Regions from separate parts of the Homo sapiens genome. Here all the other regions are linked to region 1. The links are contacts of gene promoters, found by promoter capture Hi-C in blood cells and fetal thymus (Javierre and others, 2016). All regions are on one chromosome and are shown on one strand. The core of a region is centred on a gene start or on the middle of the fragment in contact, and the rest is flanking DNA. Distances in the headings are between cores, read along the strand shown. Region 1 holds the start of SCAPER (S-phase cyclin A associated protein in the ER). Region 2 has its middle 86 kb from the start of HMG20A. Region 3 overlaps ETFA (electron transfer flavoprotein subunit alpha). Region 4 overlaps TMEM266 (transmembrane protein 266). Region 5 overlaps ETFA (electron transfer flavoprotein subunit alpha). Region 6 has its middle 87 kb from the start of LINGO1. Region 7 has its middle 100 kb from the start of ETFA.

Region 1 (3,388 bases), core at 506-3,005:
TGAATCATCAGACATCTTGATCTAGGACTTCCCAGCCTCCAAAACTGCAAGAAATGAATTTCTGTTGTTTATAAGCCACTCAGTCTGAGGTATTTTGCTATACCAGACCCAAATGGACCAAAGACACATAGAGTATATTTTTAATGCAGCTCAAGGGAGTGTGGAGAAAGAAGGAAAAGAGCATTTGTTGAGGGCTTACCATGGGCTAGGAACAGTTCTCAATACTTTACAGACACCTAATTTATTACTATCAACAAAATTATGAGGTGGATATTATTCCTACTTTACAGATAAGAAAGGCTCAGAAAAATTAATTTGCCAAAAACAAGGGTTGGGGCTGAGATTCAAACTCAAAACAGTCTGCCTTCAAAGCCATCAGATTACTTCTCCCACAGACAACCTTCCAAATCACATTAAAACTTGACTCTTTGATTGATTAAAAATATTAATTCTTTAGTGGATATCATTCTTCAAGTGGCATAAATCATCTGCAACCAACAAACTTTGAGGAAAAGTCATAGTTAACAGAAATAACAGAAGGGAAAGAGCACCAGTATAGGCCAGAGTGGGACAGTGGTCAGACTACCAACCTTAGGTCAGAAAACTTAACCCCAGATTTACCACTCACCAGCTGGTGATCTAAGGCAAGTAATAACCTTTTGAGCCCCCGTTTCTCCATTCATAAAATAAGTATTACTCCTAGCCCATCCATCCTTCTACCAGATTATTTATGAAGATGAAAAGTTAATGATGAAATTAATCCATAAACTAAGACAAACTATAATTCATATAAGGAATTAGTATCTGTTCGGTAAAATGACTATTAATGAATAGCTATTTTCATGGAAAATAACTTGTCACAACTAGAATAAGAGATGCAGTCCACCAGCAACAGGAAGCTGCTCACAAACAGGCGGCCTCATCTCAGCTGGGGCCCCCTTAACAGCAGCAGGTGTTGCTTACAGGACCAGTTTTGTGCCTGCTTTCTAACAATCCCGTTCCTCCCTGGTGCCGTTCCCACGAACGCGCCTGGAAAACGGTGTAGAGGAAAGGCGCCAAGGAAGTGCTGTTTTGGAAAAGAGCAGCAACAGAGGCAGGAGGCTGGGTCCCACTACTCCCAGGTGCGAGAGGCTCTTCGCCCCTCCAGGCCTCAGCGCACGCATCTGGAAGACGGAGAGGCCATTCCTGCCCCGTTTCCTGGGCAGAGCTAAGATCAGAGTACAGGGAAAGCATGGTAAACCCCGCTGGGAATGACAGATGACGAAGACGATCACCTGTCAAACGAAGGGAGGCTCCTCCAGGGGCCCCTCGCATTTAGACATTCCAGAAGCCTCGTCACCCGCGGCCGGGGCTGCCCCCAAGTGAGGTGACGCGGCAGCCCCCCACTCACCCCTCAGACCGCGTAGTGTGCGGGGTCTCACGTCCCTCACACCCCAGATGAGCCCGCAGGGCAGGGCCCGGACGCGGCTCACCCCAGCCCCCGTCCCGAGGCCTCCGAGGCCGACCTCCGAGCCCTCCCCAGGCGACCGCGGCTCCCCTCCCCCAGCAACGATCCCTGCCCCGCTCAACTCGCACTCCCAGGTGAGGGGAGGGGGTGAAAGGGCGTACCCCGCCGCCATTTTGTCCCCTGGTCCCCGCAAGGCATTCAGACGGCCCGCGCCCCAACCCGGACCCGCCCGGGTCTGCGCTACGCACGCCCCTCGCGGACACTCACCCCCGACCGCCCTGCTTAGTTCGGGGCGGCTCAAAGCGTCCCGCCGGGAAAGGGGCGTGACGGGGCGGGGCAGGGAGGCCTCGGAGAGGCGGGGTGGCTTCCCGGCGCACCACGTGATCTCAGCCGCTGCCGCGCCGCTCCCGGCTGCAAGATCTGTGTTGTCCGCGCGCAGGCGCACGCCCGTTCGCGCCGTTGGGGCGCCCAGGCGGGAGGTGTGAGGGTTGATTTGGTTCGATGTCCCGGCGCGGCGTTTCCGAAGCTGTTTCTTTTCCTAGGTTAAGCTTACACCGCCGCTTTTGGCCACACAGGTCTTTCTCGTACTCAATCTCTTCCCTCCTCCTGCCTTATCACCACAGTCAATCCACAGATTAAGGACTTAGAGACGCGCCTCACAGAAATCTGTGCTGGCGAAAGCACTTGACAGGAGCACGCTGGGCTGCGCTGAACACAACTAGGCCTCCGAGAAGCTTTATCAGGGCCCTTCTGTGTGCCAGGCTTGGAAGGTCGAAGTACAGAGACCTAACAAATACGTTTCATCTACTTCAAAGACAAACATATGATGAATTAAATACTTTAACGTTTAAATCAGTCTGAACAAAATAGAAAAAAGATTCAATGCAGACTGTAATTATCAAACGAATATTCACCGTCCCTTTTCATCCAGCTGGGAAACAGCTCTTTACCCTTCCCTCTCCCTCCCCACCCGCAGTAGGCGGGAAGTCCTGGACTCACAAGCGTTGTGGGGGCAGGAACCATATGGCTATGTTCTGGCTCCCCTTCTCTCTTGCCTTCTTAGAAAACTCGCTTTTTCATTTATTCAGCAAATGTTTATTGACCACATACTATATATCAGATGGTATTCTAGATGCTTGGAGTTAATACGTGAGCAAAATAAACAGAAATCTCTAAAAAACCTCCGGCTTCTTGGAGCAGGGTGAAACCAGGCAAGTGTTACATCAAGTTTAGCCAAAAGCTGTGTCCTTACATATTTTAAGTTCAGCCTGAAGGTTTCTCCGTAAATAGTAAACTATAACCTAAATGGAGGTGTAAATACACTGCAACCTACTCTTGCGCCAATCACCAAGTTTTGGCCAAAGACGGCCAACTGTTCAAACCGTGTTCAAATAAGGTAAACGTCTAGCTATAACCATTCTGGCTGTTTCCCTACCTCACTTTTCTTTCTCTGTCTATAAACCTTTTTCCACCATGTGGCTCTGCGGGAGTCTGTATGAACCTACTCTGGCTCAGGAGGCTGCCTGATTCGGGAATAATTCTTTGCTCAAACTCTGTTTAATTTGGCTAATATTTTGCTTTTAACACAAGAAATAGTAAACACAATAAATAAGTAAATTATATAACATGATAAGCACTACAGTTAACAAAATGAGTAGGATAAGGGGGATAGAGTAGGGAGCATACTACAATTCTATAAAAGGCGGTCAGGGCCTCATTTCTTAATTATCCCCACTTCCTTTCATACTCATAAGCATGTAAACAACCTGAAGTCTCTCCCATCTTGAAATCTCCCGCCGAACCTACCAGACTCCACTTCAACCTCTGCTTTCTTTCCTATAATACATTTCTCCAATTATCTAAACAAGAGTGCCTCCAATTCCTCAACCACTACTCAAGTCTGGACTTACTGCACTCTGGTTTCTGCCCCACCACCCCACT
Region 2 (3,570 bases), core at 238-2,737, 600 kb after region 1:
TTTGGACACAGAATCCTGGACTGGCCTTGATCAAACGCCTTCCTCTCTTGAGGCCTTGGTTTCCCCCATGTGAATAGGAGGAAGAAGTGGAGTGACTGCCCACAAGTGCCCTTCCAGCCCTGGACCTGTGCTCCAGATGGCTGCACGTCCTGGCCAGCAATGCATGAGTTGGGACGTCCACTCTGAGGCTTTGCCTCATCGACAAGGCTGAAGCAGGCAGAGATTTCCAGGTTCGAGGTAAAGGGCCTCAGCCTCAGCTTGGGCAGCTTCCCAGAGCTGATGCAGCTCAGACACATCTTTCCTAGGACATCTTCTTCAGTCAGGGGACTCAGGATGGCCCAGTCACCAGATGCCCAGCTGGACAGAGCAAGACCCTGGCAAGGTCGTGTAGGGACAGCATGCTGAGCCCGATGGCCTTGATCATAGGGCTCTGCCTCACCCTCTCTGCTCCCACACCCTACGCCTCCCATGCAGGAGAACCAGCAGGACACACTGGCTTCTGCATCCTCACCAGCCAGCACCTGCTTCTCCGCATGTTCAAGAAATACAGTGCAACCTGGGGCCTGGAGGAAGGAGGAAAGGCAGCTGAGCCCTTGATCTGCTGCTCCTATCACAGTTCACCAGCTAGAGAAATGTGATGCATGCAAGGATATAAACCAGGCTGATGTGGGCTGCAGGGCTACAGGGCTGCAGGGCCGGAGGGCATGTCCATGCAGAACACCTGTGATTCACCGGTGTGCAAGCTCAGGGGCTCCCGGGAGTAGATGGCAGAGCCAGATCTGCAGCCCTGAGCTGTGTCTTCCTTCTGCCATACCACTCTCTTCTTGAACAGACCAGGTAGCTGCTATTTCAAAATGCAACCATTCCATCTTCTAGTCTAACTCTCCCAGGACAGCCCTTCTGGAATTGGGAGCCGGTGCCCAGAGTCTGCCAGCTGCTGGGATAAACTACCTGAGTTTCTTCAACCACTTTTCCCATGTAGGATTTCTACCCCCCCACCTAGGGTTGGTAGAGTTAGCAAAAAAAAAAAAAAAAAACCCTTTAATTAATTAATACAGGACACCCAGTTAAATTTGAATTTCAGATAAACAACAAATAATTTTTTAATATAAGTAAGTATGTCCCATGAAAAGTTCAACTTTAACTGGGCATCCTCTATTTTATCTAGTGATCTCATCCATATCCCACCCCGATCCCAGCCAAGCCGTCTCTGGGAAAAGCTAGAGAAGGTTTCAGAAGGTCACGGGGCCTCGCATTAGGATCAGGGTGTCTTTAATGGGCAGTCCTCCCCTGTGCACTCCCCTCCCTCTCCACCAGTTGCTGGTTCACGATGAAGCCGCCGATGCCCCTTGCCTGCTCCGGAGGCAGTGCGTTCTCCCCGCAGGGTGATTGTGTTTATTGTCTCTGCACCAAGACAGACCTGGAGTGTGCGGCTGCCCTCTTGACTCCCTGTTCTTGCTATTCATTACCACTGCTCAGCCACTTTGCCTTTGTTGCTGAGCACCTAGAACACAATTTATTTTTCTCTTCCTCCCAAAGTGGGGGTTCTGGGAAGGAAGCCAAGGATTTGAGCCAGGGCCGCCAAAAGACAGAGCTCCGCCTCTGAGACTCCTGCCTGCCACACTGCGCCCAGCCCACGTTCCGGTTTTCACGCCTGCGGAATGGGTGTGACCTGTTCCAGCCAAAGGCAGAGGCTCCCAGACCCTGGAGGGAGCCATCTGTGGAAACAGGAAATGTCCTTGCATTCCAGCCATGGCCCTTGTAGGCGTTTCAGTGCCCCTTATGCCAGTGGGGATGTGATGAAGAGAAGGAAGGTCGGCCAGCGCCTCCACACCACACTGCAGAGGCAAAGGCCTGGGCAGCCCTGGTGTGGTTCATGCTATGTGTCCACTTGACTAGGCCACCATGCCTGTTTCTGGATGAAATTAACACTTGAATCCGTAGACTGAGTAAAGCACAGGGCCCTCCTTCATGTGGGTGGGCTCCATCCAATCAGTTGAAGGTTCGAACAGAATAAACGCCTGAGTAAGAAAGAATTTCCTCTCTGCCTGACTGTCTTCAAGCTGGGATGTCAATCTCTTCCTGCTCCCAGACTCACACTGGAACTCACACCATCAGCTTTTCTGGGTGTGGACTCCTCAGCCCCCATAATCCTGTGAGCCAATTCCTTATAACAAATCTCTCCGTGCATCATGTTGGTTCTGTTTCCCTGGAGGGCTCTGAGTAATACAGGCTTCTTCCTTCCTCTTCCCTGCTCCCCACTGTAAAAGGCAGAGTGTAGGCAGGTGCATGTACACACACCCCCCACACCCCTCCCAGAAGCAGTCAAAGGACAGGTCTCTCCAGGTGCCTCCCTCCGCTGTGCCTGGTCCTGAGGTTGGAGAATATCTTAGCTGAGGTTCCCCTGAGGAAAACTGAGTCTAGATTTATGTGAAAATGATTTCTTAGGGAGAAATCTAAGTGGGAAAGACAGTAGAGGGACAAGGAAGTGGGACGCAAGCAAAGAGAAAGAAGCCAAGCCAGGGTGTGGCATCAAGCCAAGCCACGCGAAGGGCTGCGTGTCTCATACTCCAGGGAGCTGTGGGGACACTTTAGAGGTGCCCCAATCAGGGGCAAGCGGGCAGGGGCAGTTTTACTTCCTTGCCCTCCCCAAATGGAGCACAAAAATGTCCAGGTATTTCCTGTTCTTCACAGGTGCGGGCAGAGTGGTTCTGGCAGCTCAGGGCCATTCTCCAACAGAGACAGCTGACTGTTGGGAGTGAAGGCACAGGGGTGGGTAAAGATAGGGGGTTGGAGGAGACATGAGGATGGAAAGCATGTTGTGGGGGGGCGGTGCTGAGCGTAGGTCTGGAGAGCAAGAGAGGGGCAGGTTGGGGAGGTCTTGTCTTTGGGGGGGCCCACCCCAAGCACACCTCTGTGAGTCTGAGCTTCCCTTGAAAAAAAGCCTCCCTAAAGAAGCAAGTAGCCCGCTGCACCCAAGCCCTACGCACACAGTCTCCAGGCCAAGGCTATTTTTGTTTTCCTCTAATAACAATGAGCACATTGTGCACACTTCCTGACTAATCTGCTCAGTGAGGTTGGGAGGAGGGACGGGGAGGTCCTAGGACAGAGGGCCCATCTTAGGCTGAGAACTAAGCCTGAACCGTCCAGCTAAGTCAGGTGTGGGAAAGACCCCAACTCCCAGGTCCAGCCACTGCCCCTTCCCGCCTACTCAGCACCTGCTTGTCTCATATGGCTGCTCGGGTTCTGCTGTCAGAGCAGAAGCTAAGGACCCGCCAACTCCCTTCGTTGCTTCTTGCAGGTAATAGTTGCTTCCTGAGCACCCACTGTACACCAGATCCCGTGCTAGGCCCTTTGCATGTCAGATTTCATTTTCCCTCATGCTCAGCTCTATGAATAGTGAGTGTGAGCCCATTCATTCAGACAAGGAAGCTGAAGCTTGGAAAGACTAAGTGACTGATCCAAGTGTACGCGGCTGGTCAGTGGTGGGGGCCTGTTCAAATCCAGGCCTGCTGAACCCCACCCCTGGGGTGAGGGTCTTTCTGCACCTCTGAGACCTTGTGCCCAGGA
Region 3 (3,487 bases), core at 237-2,736, 620 kb before region 1:
ACCACCACACTCCAGCCTTGGTGACAGAGCGAGACTCTGCCTCAAAAGAAAAAAAAAAAAAAGGAAAAGAATAACACTAACCTGAAGAACAGCCTGTGTAGTACATATTTAAAAAGCAACAAAAATAAAATAAAGGTGTGTTCTTGTGCTTGTACTGAAATAGATGCATGTGCTAACTTTGTCCTCAGCAGCAGGAATCCTTGGGAAAGTCACAGTTCCCCAAGTCTCAGTTAATTCTTCTTCTTCTTCTTCTTTTTTTTTTTTTTTGGAAACAGGGTCTCATTCTGTTACCCAGGCTGAACTTGCAGTGGTGTGATCATAGCTCACTGTAACCTTGAACTCCTGGGCTCAAGAGATTATTCTGCCTTGGCCTCCTGAGTAGCTGGGACTACAGGCGCACGCTACTGCGTCCAGCTCATTTTTTGGTTTATGTTTTGTTTTTTTCTGTAGAAGCGGGGTCTTGCGTTGTTGTCCAGGCTGGTCTCGAATTCCTGGCCTCAGCTGATCCTCCTGCCTTGGCACCCCAAAGTGCTGGGATTACAGACATGAGCCACCATGCCCATTCTGAAGCACCTACTTAATCTGGTTTAAAAACCAGATTTGTCAGTATTTAAAGCTAGCTTCAGTAAGTAATCCTCCTCCTGAACCACCTTCTTTAACTGTTCAGGAATTATTACTGGAATAGTTACTTGGCTGAACAGATTATCTTACAAATTTTATGTTATACAGACTTTGCCTCTTTTAAAAGTTTTAGAACTTTCTAAATTGCTCAAAATTTAATGTCTTTTGTATTTTCATTATCCCTTGTTTAACATATCTTCAAGAAATTTTACCATGGTACTTAAAAGTATGTTTTCCTGGATCTGGTCTTCTATCTAAACATCATGAGGGTGGATGGTACACAGATATCTATCCTATTAAAAATATATCCCATCCAACAAGCTGCCTGCATGGTTTCTGGGAAGAAGAAGCAATAATTGAGTTCTTTTTGTGCATAAAAAATGACATATTTTAAAATTCTAGCAGACAAGTATAAAAGTGTGTTATCTCAAAACCACAGCTGGTGAAGGACTATCATACAGCAAATTGTTTGGCTTCTTCTGATAGACGTTTCTCATTCCAAACCCATTTACAGGCCGCACGACCAGCTACTATTATGTGACCCTTATTCTCAAAACTCCCATCTGTTACAACATAGCAATCATGGCCAGAGTACTAAAATCTAGCTAATGACAAACACCCTTTCATGGTCTAACACTCTGTTAGGTGAACTGTCATCATAGAAGGAAACTCAAGGCTCATGAAATTATTTAAATCATCCAATATATAATCAAAACTCTCAGAGACAGAACGGTCCACAAAGATTATTTCACCCATCAGACTGGAGGAAAAAATGTTAAAATGTATACTACCAAGTGTTGACAATTAAGTAATAGGTATCAAAATTTTTAAACTACATAGCATTTGACTCAGTGATTTCACCTCTAGAACTCTATTGTAAATAAATTCCAGCCCATGTTTACACAGATACATGCATGACCATGTTTTCTTGCAGTAAAGTATATAAATGCAAAAAACTGGAACCAAGTTAACTGTCCTTAGCTAAACATGGAATCTTATGCAGCCATAAAAAAAGAGAAACATTATGAGCCAAAGTCGCTACTCTTTTTTTTTTTTTTTTTTTTTGAGACAGGGTGTTGCTCTGTCACCCTGGAGCACAGGCTGGAGTGCAGCAGTGTAATCTCAGCTCATTGCAGCCTCAACCTTCCAGGCTCAAGCAATTCTCCCACTTCAGCCTCCCAAGTAGCTGGGACCACAGGCATGCACCACCACACTCAGCTAATTTTTTTTTTTCATTTTTTTGTAGAGATGAGATCTCACTGTATTGCCCAGGCTGGGCTACAACTCCTGGGCTCAGACAATCCTCCCAAAGTGCTGGGATTACAGGCGTCAGCCACCGCACCCTGCCCAAGTCATACTCTTAAGTAAAAGCTACTATTCACAAAACAATTCATGCCATATTATCCCATTTTAGAAGTAAAAAATATATAGCTGTACATGTACTGTAATTTAAAAATCCATAGAAGGAGGCCTAAAAGAATGTACAATTGTTAACAGCTATACTTCTAAAGAGGGGAGGGTGAGTTGGGAATAAGAAAGCAGGACTTTGACACCTTGCTCTGCACACTGCTGTACTACACGCAGTCTTCCTAATAAGGATGTATTTGTGTACAACTTATTTTACAATTTTTAAAAGTGAAAATAGGCTAAGCACAGTGACTTATGTCTGTAATCCTAGCACTTTGGGAGGCTGAAATGAGAGGATGACTTGAGGCCAGGAGTTTAAGACAAGCCCGCACAACATAGGGAGACTACATCGATACAAAAAATTTGAAAATTAGCTGGGCATGGTGGCATGTACCTGTAGTCCTAGCTACTCAGAAGGCTAGGATAGGAGGATCGTTTGAGCCCACAAGTTGGAGGGTATGTTGAGCTACAATCGTGCCACTGCACTCCAGTCTGGGCAACAGAGCTAGGCTGAAGCAGGCAGATCACCTGAGGTCAGGAGTTCGAGACCAGCCTGGTCAACACGGCGAAACCCTGTCTCTACTAAACATACAAAAATTAGCCAGGTGTGGTGGCACGCACCTATAATCCCAGCTACACACGGGAGGCTGAGGCAGGAGAATGGCTTGAACCCAGGAGGTAGAGGTTGCAGTGAGCTGAGATTGTGCTGCTGCACTCCAGCCTGGGCGAGGAAAGTAAGACTCCATCTCGAAAAAAAAAAAAAAAAAAAGTAGGCCAGGCGCGGTGGCTCACGCCTGTAATCCCAGTACTTTGGGGGGCCGAGGCGGGCGGATCACGAGGTCAGGAGATCAAGACCATCCTGGCTAACACAGTGAAACCCCGTCTCTACTAAAAATACAAAAAATTAGCCGGGCGAGCTGGCGGGCGCCTGTAGTCCCAGCTACTCGGGAGGCTGAGGCAGGAGAATGGCGTGAACCCCGGGGGGCGGAGCCTGCAGTGAGCCGAGATGGCGCCACTGCACTCCAACCTGGGCGACAGTGAGACTCCATCTCAAAAAAAAGAAAGTAAAAATAAAGACTAAAAATGACACCTTATTAAGAATGGAACAAAAGAAAAGAGAGCTAAGATAACACCCACGGCCACAGAGAGAGAGCAAGAAAAATCCACTGACGAATTCCTTGTCTTAAGCTCCCATTACACTCCTCCCTCCATTTTTAACTTTATGTAGACTGCTATCCATCTTATAACACACTCATTCTTCAGACACATCACAATGCACATGATCAGATTACAGCTTTCTTTACCTTAAGGATGTCTTCAACCACCACAAGCCCTTTCCAAATTCCCTACGTAGATAAAATTTGGCTTTTCTAGATATCCATCAGCCATCCAAATAAACCATCTCTTAAAATGGGCTACTAATAGAAATGACTCTTGCTCGTTCACTCTCTCTCTCACA
Region 4 (3,508 bases), core at 92-2,591, 710 kb before region 1:
CCGGGTCTCCACCCGGCCCCAGAGTGTCACGGCCGGGGATCCCCCTCGCCTCCCTCTCGCGCCCCGGGACTGTGCGCAGAGTGGATGGGGTTCCTTTCAGGTGTGTGCCCCTCCTTCACTCGTGATTGGGGGACACGCTCAGATCAGTAGCCTCGGTACTGCCTGTCAGAGCCCAGGAGAGAGCATGTAGTCCAGCCACCGACCCAAACTAGAAATGACTCGTCCCCATTTCATGCCTGTGGCCACTGGCGTGCGTTGTGTGTGGTGTCTTCCCTGTCCTCGCGGTAGCCGGAGGAGGAGGTGTGACTTTTCTGTTGTATGGCTGAAGAAACCGAGACCCAGGAAAGCCGTCCAAAGGCGCATCGCTAATAAGTGGCAGAGCCAGGCTTCCAGACAGAGGTCTGGGGCTTCCTACTGGACTACCACCTACTGGGGCCCAAACAAGTCCAGGCCCGGGGCCACAGTAGCCCAGAGCTTGAGCCTTGCAGACGGTGAGAATTCACGAGACGGTGATGTTGGTGGAGATGGGAACACGAGCGATAGCCCAGGGTAGGGTCCTGTATGGAAGGGAGTTATTTCGAGATTCAAATCCCAACTCTTCTGTCAGCCAGTTATGTGATGGGACTCTCTTGGGGCCTTAGTTTTGCCAGCTGTCAAGTAGGAGCAGTACTGAGGCTTCCTCACAGGGCTGCTGCGAGGCTCAGAGGTTTCGGGAATTGCACGGGGCCACCCAAGCCAGGAAATGGTGGTACTGGGCTGGGAACTCGGGCTGTGGGACCCAAAACCCCAGCTTCATCCAGGAGCCACTCTGCCTTGGCATGCCGTGTCCCCTGCAGGGCAGTGAGGACGCAGCCGGGCAGGCTGAGCAGCTGGGGAGGCAAGAGGCCTGAGCTCCAGCCTCTGCCACTCCTCAGCTCCATGACTGGAGGCTTCAGTGTTCCCTTCTGTAAAATGGACTCTTAACTCCAGCTCTGTCTGCCTCACAGGACTTACGAGGAACCGATGGGTGTGAGAAAGCTCTGAGGGCTGTAAGGCACTGCAACACTGCAAACAGCTTTTGGGAAACGAATGGTTGCTTTTTTTTTGGAGACAGGGTCTCACTCCTGGAGTGCAGTGGTATCATAATAGTTCACTGCCACCTCAGACTCCTGGGCTCAAGTGATCCTCCCACCTCAGCCTCCTGAGTAGCTGGGATCATAGGTGTACACCATCTCACCCAATTAATGTTTTTATTTTTGTAGAGGTGGGGTCTTGCTATGTTGCCCAGGCTGGTCTCAAAGTCTTGGCCTCAAGTGGATCCTCCTGCCTCAGCCATGGAAAGTGCTAGGTTTATAGGCATGAGCCACTGTGTCCAGCCACTCTTTTGAGAGATCTTCAGATCTTAGAAACATAGGATTTGGGGGCTAGAGGGGATTTCTGGGTCCAGCCCTTCAGCTGATGTGAGAATCCCCTCTATAACTCTCTGCCATGAGCCATGCAGCCTCAGCTCGCCCTCCTCTAAGTGCTTCATACCTCCCTGGGGAACCCACCCCACCTCCACATGGCTCTGCCTGTAAGAAGATTCTTCCTCAGACTGCACTGAGGCCTGGTCCCCTGCCCCTGCCTCCCCACCAGCTGTGGGTTTCACGCACAGGCAGTGCCATCCCAGCTGAGACTGTTTAGAGATTGTTTCTCCTCCAGGGACCATCACCTGCATTCCCACAGCCAATCTTCGGGGACGTGCTCTCCAAGTTCTTGATGTACTGCCTCCTCCCAGAGCTCTCCAGCGTTTTGGTCCCTCTCAGAGTAATATCCACAACTGAATGCAATTACTGGGGCGCTGCAAGCCCAGGGCAGAATGTTGAGGTGGCCACTACTGCTTTTTTTTTTCTGGACCCAGGTCCCCACGATGCAGCCAGTAGGCTCCTGAGTTTGTGGGGACCACTTGGCTGAGCTCATAGCTGACCCAGCCTCACGTGCTCCCCACACAGCTCAGCTGAGCCACGTGTCCCAGCAGCCCAGCCTTGGGCAACAGGCTTTTTGTAGCCTCGTGCAGAACTTCACAATCATCAGCGTCCAGCTGTAGCTTGTTTGATTCCTGCCTTTACTCCAGGGCTTGGTAGGTCCTGATTCACAACCCATCGCCAATTCCTGATTAGTTGAAACAGCCCCCTTCTTCATCTTCATCGTTCAGCCTTTGTTATGTCTGGACCTTGCCCAGCTCCCTGCCCTCTGCAGTCTCCCCTCCCCCACCATACCGTGATTGTTCCAAAATCTTTCATGCCACTCCCCGACTTCCACCTTTCCTGGTTCCCTGTGTCCCTCAGGAGAAAGCCCACGCCCCTTAGGCTGGTGGATTAGTTTGCTAGGACTACCATAACAAAATGCCACAGACTGGCTAGCACAAACTAGAGAAGTGTATTGTCTCACAGTGCTGGGGGCTGGAACCTGAGATCAAGGTTGGGCACGGTTGCTTCCCTCTGGGGGCTGGGAGTGAGAATCTGTCCCACGCCTCCCTCTGGCTCCTGGTGGCGGCTGGCAATCCTTGGCATCCATGGCTTACAGTAGCATCACCCTGCTCTGCCTTCATCTGCACATGGCGTCCTCTCTATGCACATGTCTGGGTCTAGATTTCCCTTTTTTATAAGGGCCCCAGTCATATAAGGACCTCATCTTAACTAATGACATCTGCAACCGCTTTCTTTCCAAGTAAGACCACATTCTGAGGTACTAGGGGTTACGGCTTCAACATGTGAATGAAGAGGGGGTACCCATTCAACCCTTAAGAGGGGGCAGGCACATAAGACCCCTGACGATCTTGCCCCGGGCTGCTTCCCCAGCCTTATCTCCTTCCACCCCAGCTTGCCTTTCATTCTAGAGGAATGGAACAACCTTTAGTTCTGTAAATGTTCTGTACGGTTTCTGAGTCTCTGCATGCTGTTCATGGGATGGCCCAACCTGCCTACCAGACTTCTCTTCATGCTTAGAACCCATCTTAGAGTAAGCTCCCAGATCTCCACACCGTTCCCTGGCAACCTTACACCGACTCCCAGGTCCGGATCCTGCCCCACTGCCAGGAGCGTTTATGTGTGTCTCCCCTCTAAACTTACTTCAGGGCCTGCCTCAGTCAGGTCTCCATAGAGTTTGTTGCATTGAATGTAATCTTCAAGCCGGTAACTGATCAAAGAACAAAATAAGGCTGTCTGACATCACTTGTTCTGGTGTGGAGCCCTGCGTCTTCTCTGGGAGCTGAGGCCAGTCAGCAGTAGTCCACCCCAGAAACCCCACTCTTGGCTTTCAGCCTCTAGGCTTGTGCTTGTGGAATCCACCTTCTTATTCTTTTTGAAAGTTCTTCTGGAAGGTGGGAGCAATTTTTGCCCACTTCGCCTGGCTTCCTAAGGATGAAAGGAGCAGATTTACCATCTCAGCCCATTTCAGGATCTTCCTCTGTGACAGCCTCCTGGCTCTGCCCACAGCCCATCTTGAGGCTGCACCTCAACTCACCTGGGGCTTGGGCCTGCCCCGTGTT
Region 5 (3,853 bases), core at 436-2,935, 670 kb before region 1:
TTTTGTCACAACTGACAGTAAAGTCTCTCCTCAATATGAATAATATGTGGAAGGCACTGAAGGTGGTTCTGTTATACTTACTTTTATTACAGGGCAGATACTTCAAAAGCCAATGACAGTGTCAAGGTGGTCCCACCTTGTTTTCTGCACTGCTTATGATCTCATTTAACAATTGCTCAATCCAAAATAAGAGAGCATTTCAACTAGGATCTGAAAATAATGTTATTACCTCCTAATGTCATGATTTTTCATAGCACCTAATTGTATATGGCCACATACAAGTCAATTCACCTCTCAGGGGCTCACTTTTTCCAATTGTAAACAGAAGAGGTACACCTCCAGCACTGGTGCTTGTAAAGAAAGCTCCCCAGGATACTCTGATGTATAGCCAGAGCTGGAGAACCACTACAATAAGTGATCCCTCAGCTCTTTGGCAGCCTGAATCTGACAACTGTCTAGCCCCCTGCAGTACTCCCTGATCTTTACAAGCATAAAGTGTCCAACTGCTCCTAGAGCAGCACCATGTAACCTGGAAAAGGAAACAATCTAGTCCCCAAAGTGAGTTAATCATCTAAAAATGAGATGAGCTTGTTTTTTGAATCAACTTGTTCTATAGTTACCAAAAGCCTGAAGACAAGAACAATTTGGCGTAATAAGACTGTGTCTTAGGGTGGGGAGGAATGCTGCAGAAAGTATGGATGAGGATAAAAAGCAATTGCATGCTCTGTGATTCTACCTTCAATGTATCCAGTGTGTCAATTGTGACCCTACATAGTCGGACAATGCAAGGAGGCCCTGACATCATACTGTCTCTCAGACATGGACACTTGCATAAGTAGTAAACTTCTTCCACTACTTTCTATTTAAGATTTAGAAGTAATTCAATAGGCTTTTTTTTTTTTTTTTTTTTTTGAGATGGAGTCTCACTCTGTCACCCAGGCTGGAGTGCAATGGCACAGTCTTGGCTCACTGCAACCTCCACCTCCCAGGTTCAAGCGATTCTCCCGCCTCGGCCTCCCGAGCAGCTGGGACTACAGGTGTATGCCACCCCACCCAGCTAATTTTTGTATTTTTAGTAGAGATGGGGTTTCACTATGTTGGCCAGGCTGGTCTCGAACTCCTGACCTTGTGATCCACCCACCTCGGCCTCCCAAAGTGCTGGGATTACTGGCATGAGCCACGGCGCCCAGCCTTCAATAGGTAATTTTAAGGTCACCTCAGTTTATTCTGACTAGCATTTCATTCATAAAGGGACATTTGTTAAACTGTTAATCAAAATATACTAACATTCATATTCAGAAAAACCCGGCAAACAAATTCTAACATAAAGATTTTTAAAGCAAGCTATTTAGCTAGACACCACTCTTTTAGGTATATTCTCAAAGCAAGCATTGGAAAAGACCAGTAGTCCTGTAAACGAGTCTTTCTGTCATACATGTCTACAGCAAATTCAAGTCTTAAAAGCTCCATGTGCATTATAAAATGCTAATAAAAATGTTGATTCACTCTGGCAGTAAACATAAACATAATATAAATGAAATTACTTAAAACCCCCTGTGTCCCCAAAAATGAATTCCATTGACTTTAACCATAAGTGTCACTAAGGAAATAAGAGATTCTGGGCCAAAACAAACTGAAGGCAGTTGCTCCAGGGCCATTTCTACCTTTCTGATCACAATAAATGGTCCAAATGGATCCACATGACCAACAGGACTTTATTTTACTGTCTTGCAAACATGGTCCTCTGAATAAACATAAAAGCACTGAAACAATAACCCAGAACAAGTATAGGGATTTTGGCGGCTGCTCTGAGGCTCTGATAGCTCTCTCAGGAAGAGAGGCTTTTTCCCTCCTTTTTAAAAAACATGTACAGGCAATTAGACTAATATCTTAGTCTAATTCCTCATGGTTCAGAAAGCATTTTTGTATTTCAATAATAATAATAATTAGTATACACAAAACTCTCTACAGATGCTAATTTATGGGGCACTTCAGATGCTGCTTCACAACATAACAAGACAATCCCTTCCCTGAGGCACTTTCCTTCTAAATCAGATAGTAAGACCATTTGGAGAGAAAGTGAGAGATGTTGCCAGGGAGTACAGCAATTAAGGGTTATACAAGGCGTGGTGGGGGACGGTGGGGATTAAAGGAACCAACAGAAACAGAAAGAAGGAGGGAGAGTCCTAGAGATAGGCCTCGTGGCTTTAGAATCTAGAAGAGTGAGAATTTAGAAGAGAATGGATCAACCCCAGGTGGCTGATAGCAGTCTGAGTTGATCACTCTGTGATGCCAAGAATAGGGGCTGTGCGGAGAAGTAAAGCCACAGGATGGGAAGAGGACCAGAGCTTATTCTGAAATATAGAGAAGGGATAGCACTTAACCTTAACACAAACAAGTACTGGCAGAAAAAAGCACAAATACCTCTTCCTTTGCCAAAACCTATAGACTCATTCAAAGAACTCAGGGGCTGAGGTCTAAACTAGTTACAGTGGGCTGAGATAGAAAGGGCAGCAGGACTGAGAAACTGTTGCATCTGATGCGGTTTAACAGGTTTACCGTATCACTGTGGTTAAGAACCTAGGCTCTGTAGCCTCATTGCCTCCATTCAAATCCCACCTCTGCCATCTGATAGCTGCATGACCATGGGCCATTCATGTAACCTCTCTATGCCTCAGACTGCTCATCCAAAACACTGGAATTATAAGAACTCCTGCTTTATAGGGTTACTGTTGAGGCTCGTCCTTAGCATAGTATCAGATTTCCCAAGACACATTGATGTGTCACTCACGGGTTGAGGTTTATTCAAATATTGATTTTCTCAGCCCACTAGGTGGCCAGGTGGGCTCCTGAGGTAGCCTCAGGACTACCATGTACAGCTGAGCAGGCTGCACACTGAATAACTCTGAAGGAGGGCACCACTCTTAACAGTCACTATAGCCCTGCATTTTTATTACAATAACTTTCCAACAGATGGCAGTAAAGTAACTTGAGACACCAGTACTTTATAATTTGTACAAAAGAGTTGTGTGGACTTGAAGTACTGGGTGGCCAGAATCCCCTGTGGTACAAATATTCTAACTGTCTAAGTGTACCATAATAGGAAAGAGTTGAGCAGCACTGGGTAACTGATTTTACTGTTGTTGATATTCTTACTGTACCTTACAGGTAATATAAAGATGACTAATTCTCTGTGCCCTGTCCTCAAGAAGCTCACAGTCTAACAATTACAGGTTACGGCAAGGTCACAAAAATCTGTAATCCAATAAAGGAAAATGGAAAAGAGGTGTGATAGAGCTACAGTCTCTCATCAGCCCCTCACTTTCCTACCTGCCACTGAGAAGTGGAAAAGCCGTTAGGAGCAGAAAACAGATTAGGGGACAATATCTTTACCTTCTGACAAACAGGGGCCCACTTTTGCCATCTATCCCCATCTGTTCCTGCTCCCTTAAGTCCTTTAGACAAAACAAGCTTTTAAAGCAGGTTTTAATGGTCCTGGCTTAATGATAAAACTGCATGTCTGAGAATTAGAGGGATGATTGGAATGAAATCTTCAGACTTTTACAGAAATCTAACCAACCTGTGGATTCAACATGGCTAGTGTTCTCTGGTGGATGATTAGGTTTTTGGCTGCTTTCTTCAGAAAGTAAGTATATACTAACATCACTCCTGCTTTACCCAAAACACGTGCCCAAACCTGGAATTCTAAGATGTATTATCTGAGCTCTGCTTTTCCAGAATTTCATGTAGAAGCTAAGGGGAAAACTGTCCTCTGCTACATTGCATTTTCGCTCATCACTGTTAAGCCCCAAACAGAGTTATTCGATACATCTATACTTATATATCTTGTAAG
Region 6 (3,856 bases), core at 379-2,878, 640 kb after region 1:
CTGAGGTCATGATTGATGGACAGAGCATAGCTAATTACCCTGGAGATTAAAACGACTGTTTCTGTTTAAAAAGGCTGCAAATGAGTTAATTATTTCCTTTGCTCACCTCTCTAACCTCGTTACACTTCTAAATGAATAGCAATATTGATCTTGGAACTGATTTTGGTGTTACACCGCCCGAGCGGGTTTAATTAGGGTTTGAAAATGCTGCAGTGCCTCCTCCTTCTGACCGAGGAAATTAGACTTGGGTTTTACTTACATTTCACAGCCGTGTCCTCCACACAGATAGAAGGGCTGGAACATGGCGCAGTGGTGCCTGTCATCCCCTGCCCTGCCCTGCCCTGGCTCCCAGCTCCACTCCCATCCAGAGCAGCACAGACTGACCCTTGCTTCTCACCTCTCAGGAAGACGTGGCAGGAAGGCCAGTGGGGTCAGCTTGTTTAGCCTTGTCTGGTCACAGATTGGGCTCGGAGGCTCGGATATGATAGGACAGAGCCTAGCATCACTTGACGAGGTGGGGGCAGGCCTAGGACCTGAACTATCACAGACTCCCAACTCTGGACCTTGACGGCTCCCTGACTGAGTTAATATTTCCTCTCTGTCCCTCCTCACTTCTCCAGATGCCTACGGAGCCTCCTGGTGCTCTACCCCACCTCCAGCTCCCTCCTGCCTCTCCTCTCCTTCTTAGAGCTCCATGAAGAAAGGCCCCAGCTCGATGAAGGTGGGGAATGAGAGGGGGAGCAGGGCCCAGGATACCAGCACCCCTGCCCTGGATCTGCAGCTGACATCTAGGTGACCATGCCCTGTATCTGGGCCTCCCTACTCTGAATCTGACAGTCTGTCTATATCACTCCCTCCCACCTCCCCCAGCCAGAATTTTCAAGAGCAAGTAGCATCTCTGGGAGCCAGAGCCAGAAGGGTAGGGTAGTGAGAGTGAGCAGGACAGGCTTGGGCCAAGGATATAGGACTGAGTGGGTCTGCTCCTTCTTATTCCAAATAAAACCTTCCCTTGACCCTGGCTCTCCTCTGCCATGGCCAGATCTGTCCCAGTCTCACTTCTTTTTTTAATTTTTCCAGAGACAGAGTCTCCCTCTGTTACCCAGGCTGGAGTACGGTGACAGGATCACAGCTCACTGCAGCCTTGAACTGCTGGGCTTAAGTGATCCTCCCACCTCAGCCTCCCCAGTAGCTAGGACCACAGATGTGCACCACCATGCCCGGTTATTTTTTAAAAATTTTTGGAGAGATGGGGTCTTGCTGTGTTGCCCAGGCTGATCACAAACTCCTGGCCTCAGGTGATCTTCCTTCCCACCTTGGCCCCAGTCCCAATTACTGAGAGTTGTGTACATTCACTGCCCCCGTCTCTGACTTCCTCCCCACGCCTCTGCCCTCTGTTTTTTATGTCTCCCAGATAAAACGATTCTTACTGAGGTCACCAGCAACCTCTAAGTTGCTGAACAAAGTGAGCGCTCTGTTCAGGGGGTCTGGGCATGGATCTACCTGACAGCTTCTCTCCTTCCTGCAGTGGCACTGGCTCCTGGGTTTCCTCCTCCCTGCTCCCTCTTGGGACTGGGTGCTCCCCTCCCATCCCTGAAGAATCTCAGGGTTTGGCTTAAGCCCTCTTCTCTTTCTTCTCACTTGACGCGCCCTCCCCTGGTGAGCCCACCTCTCTCGTGGTTGGAAAGTGATCTATCCCAAATTACTATCTTAGCTCAGCCCTCTCCCTTGAGTGCATGTAGGTCCAGCCAGGGAGTGACATGGTTAGACTTACACTTTAGAAAGGCCACTGTTACTGTAGTGTGGCAGGAAAGGATGATGGTGGAGACAGAGGAACCCCTGAGGTGGCTGTTCTAAGTCTCAGCGGAAAAACATTCAGGCCTGTGGCTGAAGAAATGGGGAGCAGGGGGTGATCCACTGGACGGGGAGGCTTTGGGGATTGATTTCCTAGGGGCACGTTCCAGGGCAATGTCCCATTGTCAAGTTGGACCTCTGAGTGCCTTTGGCTGAAACTGGCAACGTCAGGGAGAAGCAGGCTTCCAGGGAGTGTTCAGGCTGTTGGGTTGAGTTCAAGGTGCCTACAGGGACATTCAGAAGGAGAAGGAAGGTAGGTGACTCCCTCAAATTGCTACAGCCAGCTTGTAGCCCTGCCATTCAGGGTAGAGGTCATCAGCATGCAAGGAGCTAGGCGGCGACTGCATGCCCAGAAGCACTGCTACAGATAAGACAGCCAGGACGATGTGGGAGAGCAGAAGGCACTGCATTCGACCCTGGTGATTCATGCCTAATTTGGCCAGTGAAATCTGTGAGCCAGACCACATGCCCTGCCTTGTCAAACAAGGAAAGAAGTGTGGAGATTGAGGGTCAGAGACTCTAACTGAATCCCAACCTCACTAATAGACTGAGCCCTGATCCTGCTCACAGTCTGAGCCCTCATCCTTGTCACAGTCCAAGGAAACAGGACTACCCAGCTGGAGGCTCTTAGGTAACACCTTCCTGTTTCCATTTCCCCTTTTCTCCCCTGAGGTAAGGATGAAGGAGAGGGAGCTTAGTAGTGCCAAGGAAGCAAGCCTGGAGTACTGAAGGCAAGATAGAGAAAGCACTTCCAATGTGCATGCCCAGGAATCCTCAGCTTTTTGGGGGTTCATGGCATACATGTGAACACTGGAACTTTCAGTGGCACCATTGAGAAAAGACTCACTGGGCACAGTGGCTCACGCCTATAAGTCCAGCACTTTGGGAGGGCAAGGAAGGTGGATGACTTGAGCCCAGGATTTCAAGACCAGCCTGGGCAACATGGTGAAACCCTGTCTCTACAAAAATTAGCCAGGCATGGTGGTGCACGCCTCTAGTCCCACTTACTCAGGAGGCTGAAGTGAGAGGATTGCTCGTGTCCAGGAGGTGGAGGTTGCAGTGAGCCATGATTGCACCACTGAACTCCAGCCTGGGCAACAGAGTGAGACTCTGTCTAAAAAAAAAAAAAGAAAAGAAAAGAAAAAAAAAAGATTCAAAACCACCCTAAAGGAGCCAGCGGCAGTGTCCTTGTGGTCATCACTGTGGCATCAGATGCTTCACATGCTTGCAAAAGCTCATCAGTTACTACTGAGCTGTCTGGGTCCTCAGGACACAATTGCCTTTAGATGGAGCTATTTACTGTCCTGGGTATACTGCTGTCCCTGTATCACTGCATCCTGTGACATACTGGGCATAGACAGAAGAGTTCCCTTAATGAGTTCTAGGGTGGTGGTTAGGAGTTCCAAGCTCTGAGTTCCAGACTGCCTGGAATTCAAATCCTGACTCTGCCCATCCCAGCTGTGCGATCATGGGCAAGCTGCTTCACCTCTCTGTGCCTTAGTTTCCTCATCTGAAAGTGGGGGTGATAATAGCACTTACCCCCTAGGGAGTTCACTTATATTAAGTGCTTAGTGCCTGGCATGTGGTGAGTGCTCTCTTAGGGTTGGGTGTTGCTATAACTTTGCTTATTGATGCATGCTTGGCTGACACTGTAAAGATCACAACACCTCAGAGAGGCCAGTATTCAGGCTCTGGGAGACCAGTACAGTTCGAGGGCAATTAATTGCTGTCTACTCTGTGCTGGGCGCTGGTGACACAGAGAGAAAACTCCACATTCCTGCTCTCAGGGGGTATACTGTCTGTGAAGAGATCGTCCTAACACACACTGTGTGTGCTGTGTTGGGGGGAATGTGAGTGAAATGGACTCTGTTGGGGGGGATGATGGGTGTTCATAACAAATACATTTATTGCGTGCCTACTGCGTACCAGGCCCTGCTCTGGGGACTTTACACATATTACATAATCCTTACAAGAGGATAATATATAACATTATCATAATTTTCAT
Region 7 (3,714 bases), core at 215-2,714, 700 kb before region 1:
TGGAGGTAAAAGCTTCGCCTTTCATGGCTCCCCTGGGCACCATATCCTACAGTTATGGCTGGCGGGCAGCTGGGGGCTGAGGGAGATGGAGCCTGAGCACTCCCTGGGAGGTTTGCAGCTCTGGGAAATGGCTCCCCGTTCTCCTGCACCCTTTTGGAGAACCCACTCTGGTGGCCCAGAGGAGTCATCGGGCTGTCCCTGAAGGGAGGGTCTGGTAACAGCCACTGTCTCCTGCTAGAACAAGAGGGTGGTAACAATAGTGACTCCCACGTCTGCATTTCCTGTTGTGACAGGTGCTCTTCACAGGCTTCCCTCCTTAGCACAGCCCTGGAAAGTGGGCGCTATCTTCCCTGCTTTACAGAGGAGAAAACAGCAGCCATGGAATGACTCATTCAGGGGCTTGCCCAAGGGCACACAGCTAACTAGTGAGCTGTAGTGGCAGGATTCAAACCCAGGTCTGGCTGGATTATATGCCATGCTAGATGTGAAATGAGCTGTCCAGAATCAAACCAGGTGCCACCAGGAAAGCCAAAGTAAGAAATCAGGACTCAGAGCCAGCAGTGCTGGTGACTGGCCCACCAGGGAGCTGGGCCAGAGTCTGCAGCCCCAGCCTGAAGCCCACCCAGGATGAGGGAACCATAAGGCCTTCCCTGAGTGGCACAACAGGCCCCTCTCCAGCCAGCCCTGGGCAAGGTTCCCAACCAAAGTGTGGCTTTTCAGATCAAGTCCCACAGACAGGAGTGTTGGGATGGAACCTGTGTGGCTAGAGGCTAGTGGCTTGGAATTCTATTTAGCATGGTGGGTGTCCACCTGAAATTCAACTCAGGAGCTCCTTTCTCCTTCCAAGACAGCTCTTGACGGAAGCCAGAGTCAAAAGAGCATGGCTTCCGCCTTGGTGCTGCCGCCACGCTCCTCCCTGGTGCTATTCAGTTACCTCTAAAGAGAGAAGACAGAGTTGGGGTCCCACTCTTGGAGCTGCTGACAAATTATCTGGGCCCAAGGAATCCCTCTTACTAACAAGCTGACAGTACCCTGTGCCCCACTCAACACCTGTGTGGAGTTGCTTCACAAGGACCCCCAACAACTCTGGGGGCTGAAACAGCCAAACCATGGACATCTCAGGGCTGGAGAGAGGTCTGTTCATCCCACTCTCTCCCATGCCTCCTACCTCAGGTGCCACTGTACCTATGCACGGGATGTGGCAGAGACTGGATTCTCAGCCCAGCCCTGTTTCTGGTTTGCTATGAGGCTCCAAGCAAATCCTTAGACCTGCTTCCTCCCCATGTACAACAGGAATGATCTTGTGCCTCCCACCCTGAAGGCTGCTGGGATAGCTAATGATGTAACAGAAGGGAAAACCCTTTGAGAATGTTTCAGGGGAGACACAAACAGAAAGCATCCTTATTAATGAGAAGCCTGGGGTGTTTTACTGCCAGCACATGCTCAGCACTTTTGGGGTCAGCTGCCCAGGAGACGCTCTTGCTGCTGCTGATAGTCTGGTGTGGGAGGGTGGCAGTGAGCCCCGCCCCTAGTCATAACAGCCAGTCCAGCCACTGCCTGCTCCTCTCCTGAGTGCATCCCTGCTCGCACATACTCATTTGTTCCATGCCTGTATTCACTCTGAGTGAGGTAAGAGAGCACTGTTATCCCCCAGACAGGAGGCACCTTATCTTCCTTCCTCTCCCTTTGGTCAGTACTATTGGAGTACTACTGGAGTACTTGCCAAAAACTTGTATTTCCCTCACATTAACTAAGTGAGGAATTCATCACTATTCTGAATATCTTTGACTCCACTGCTGAAAAGTTTGGTATTATCTCCTGGTGAATAGTTAATTATCCAAGGAAAATGATGAAACATTTGCTGCTAAAATTTATTGCAAGCTACCAGGAGACAGGGCTGGCATAATTTTATGCAGAGCCCCAGGCTGCAACATAGGGAAGCAGGCTGCCTCTTCATCCTGAAACAAGCAAATGAAATTGACTACCCTGGAGATCAATCAGGACATTAAACACTGTGATGGATGTGGCAGAATTCTTCAGTGTCTGAGATTTATGGGTCACCCTTCACCGAGCACTCTAGGAACCTCCCCAACATCAATTAGGCCTCATAACTAGGTATGCTCACCTCCGCCTCCACTGATTAAAGAAGCGATAGGGGGTTCTGGGACCTGCACCGTGCTAAATACCACAAAAGGCCAATGAGCAGACTGGATCCAGATTGCAGTACAAAGACCCCTGCTTCCCTGAGCAAAGAGTGGTTCAGAATGGAGGAGTGTCCGGCTAGAAGGGGACTCATGCATCAGAGTCTAGACCTTGCATTTTCCAGAGAAAGCAGCTCAGTGTGTCATGTTCCTGGGTAATCCTGTTCTTTGTCCATGCTGGCCTTCTGCCTGGAATGCACTTCTTCATCTGGTTGATTTTGCTGCCCCTTCTGAACTTGGTGAGGCCTTCATATCTTGCTGCCCTGCACTGCAGCCCACCCTAGTCAGGCTAGATTAGGTCCATCCTCTGCACTCCCATTGAGGCACTTGGGATATGGCATGTGGTTGGGAGCAGACTGGCCTGTGGTCACCATTTACTAGCCATGCGTCCTTGGGCAAGTGTTTTAAGCTCTGTAGGCTTTAGTTTTCTCATCTGAAGAAGAGTTGCTGATAATCCTTGGCTTATATAGCACTTTCATGTATGTCACCCCATCAGTGGGGGAAAGAGTAGGAAACATTCAAGAAATCAGAATCTCAGGAGAAGAGGCAGTTTGCCCCAGGTCAAACCTACACCTTGTGAGGTTATGAGACGTAAATGAGATAACGTATGTAAAGGGCTCAGCACAGCATCTTGGGCATAAGAAGCCCTCAAAAACAGTATTCACTGTCTCCATCTACTCACCTCGTATGACACCCACCAATACACTCATAGGTTAAAGCTTGTTATCTAGAAAGATCACCTAGTTCACATCGCCATTTTACAGATGATTAAAATGAAACCTGAAAGGAGGGAAGGTGACCAGGGTGCCTCTGGGGCAGTAACAGGAACAGGATGAGAACCCAAGGCTCCTGTTGACCAGTCCACCCAGTGGTCTCCAGGTCCCAGACCCAAATGTCCCCTATGCAGCCCACGCTGGGAAGGAAACACAGCTGGAGGTGAGCACACAAAAAGAAAGCACTCACCTGTCTTTAACCACATGCCCAGTTAGTTGCAGGAGATGAAGAAGGCAAAGGCCACGCAGATAAAGCCACCCCAGGGCCTCCCTCTCACCAGTCCCAATGCCACAGGAAGTAAATGCCAGCTTACTTCACAGAAAATCCCTAATTCCATCGGTGTTCCTTGCTTCTAATGGCAAGCCTGCTGTTTTGAAGCAATGCAAACCAGAGGATATAGTCCTGGAGAGAATGGGAGGACCACAGTCTAGTGGACAGGCCAAGTTTTCCAGACCTGGAGTCCAGTTCAGGTCCCACATCTCACCAACTGCCTCTGGTCATCTCTATGCTCATTTCTTCATCCAGAAGGTAGGCGTAATGATATACACTTTAGAGGAGCCTGTATTAGAAGGGTATATAATGTACCCAACACACAGGGAGTTCTTAATAAGTAGTATTTGTCCAAAGTTCTGTTTGTGTTCCAGTTCTATCACATGTGTTGTGACCTGGGGCAAACTGCCTCCTCTCCTGAGAGTCTGATTTCTTGCATGTTTTCTACTCTTTCCCCAACTGATGGGGT

Evidence for each region. The method cuts DNA at HindIII sites, captures the fragments that hold promoters and counts their contacts. A CHiCAGO score of 5 or more calls a contact.
Region 2: a fragment that was not itself captured here is called in contact with the fragment with the promoter of SCAPER in region 1 in 1 of 17 cell types (naive B cells); the score reaches 6.6 in naive B cells.
Region 3: a fragment that was not itself captured here is called in contact with the fragment with the promoter of SCAPER in region 1 in 2 of 17 cell types (total CD4 T cells and M2 macrophages); the score reaches 6.4 in total CD4 T cells.
Region 4: a contact is called between a fragment that was not itself captured here and the fragment with the promoter of SCAPER in region 1, in 7 of 17 cell types (megakaryocytes, endothelial precursors, erythroblasts and 4 more). The highest score is 9.8, in megakaryocytes.
Region 5: a contact is called between a fragment that was not itself captured here and the fragment with the promoter of SCAPER in region 1, in 10 of 17 cell types (M1 macrophages, fetal thymus, megakaryocytes and 7 more). The highest score is 9.7, in M1 macrophages.
Region 6: a fragment that was not itself captured here is called in contact with the fragment with the promoter of SCAPER in region 1 in 6 of 17 cell types (total B cells, naive B cells, naive CD4 T cells and 3 more); the score reaches 8.7 in total B cells.
Region 7: a fragment that was not itself captured here is called in contact with the fragment with the promoter of SCAPER in region 1 in 3 of 17 cell types (erythroblasts, megakaryocytes and endothelial precursors); the score reaches 6.9 in erythroblasts.

What each region holds. Positions count from the first base shown.
Region 1 is chr15:76,903,585-76,906,972 of GRCh38, forward strand. It overlaps SCAPER (S-phase cyclin A associated protein in the ER), which reads right to left and starts at 1,756. Exons shown (of 32, transcript NM_020843.4): 1 at 1,715-1,756. RefSeq lists silencers at 1,332-1,411, 1,432-1,541, 1,552-1,861 and an enhancer at 1,602-2,102. The HindIII fragment of the contact is 6,645 bases long and covers 1-1,993 here.
Region 2 is chr15:77,505,055-77,508,624 of GRCh38, forward strand. It overlaps a transcript of HMG20A not described here. Among named protein-coding and RNA genes, the nearest start is that of HMG20A, 86 kb to the left of the region's middle. RefSeq lists an enhancer at 2,475-3,451. The HindIII fragment of the contact is 3,898 bases long and covers 1-3,436 here.
Region 3 is chr15:76,288,669-76,292,155 of GRCh38, forward strand. The region is part of intron 4 of ETFA (electron transfer flavoprotein subunit alpha); the gene reads right to left. Among named protein-coding and RNA genes, the nearest start is that of ETFA, 21 kb to the right of the region's middle. The HindIII fragment of the contact is 6,746 bases long and covers 1-3,487 here.
Region 4 is chr15:76,192,164-76,195,671 of GRCh38, forward strand. All of the region lies in intron 9 of TMEM266 (transmembrane protein 266), which reads left to right. Among named protein-coding and RNA genes, the nearest start is that of ETFA, 120 kb to the right of the region's middle. The HindIII fragment of the contact is 4,829 bases long and covers 1-3,508 here.
Region 5 is chr15:76,232,436-76,236,288 of GRCh38, forward strand. The region is part of intron 9 of ETFA (electron transfer flavoprotein subunit alpha); the gene reads right to left. Among named protein-coding and RNA genes, the nearest start is that of ETFA, 77 kb to the right of the region's middle. RefSeq lists an enhancer at 1,879-2,568. The HindIII fragment of the contact is 3,567 bases long and covers 1-3,469 here.
Region 6 is chr15:77,543,960-77,547,815 of GRCh38, forward strand. No RefSeq gene overlaps it. Among named protein-coding and RNA genes, the nearest start is that of LINGO1, 87 kb to the right of the region's middle. The HindIII fragment of the contact is 4,566 bases long and covers 1-3,856 here.
Region 7 is chr15:76,208,595-76,212,308 of GRCh38, forward strand. No RefSeq gene overlaps it. Among named protein-coding and RNA genes, the nearest start is that of ETFA, 100 kb to the right of the region's middle. The HindIII fragment of the contact is 2,908 bases long and covers 11-2,918 here.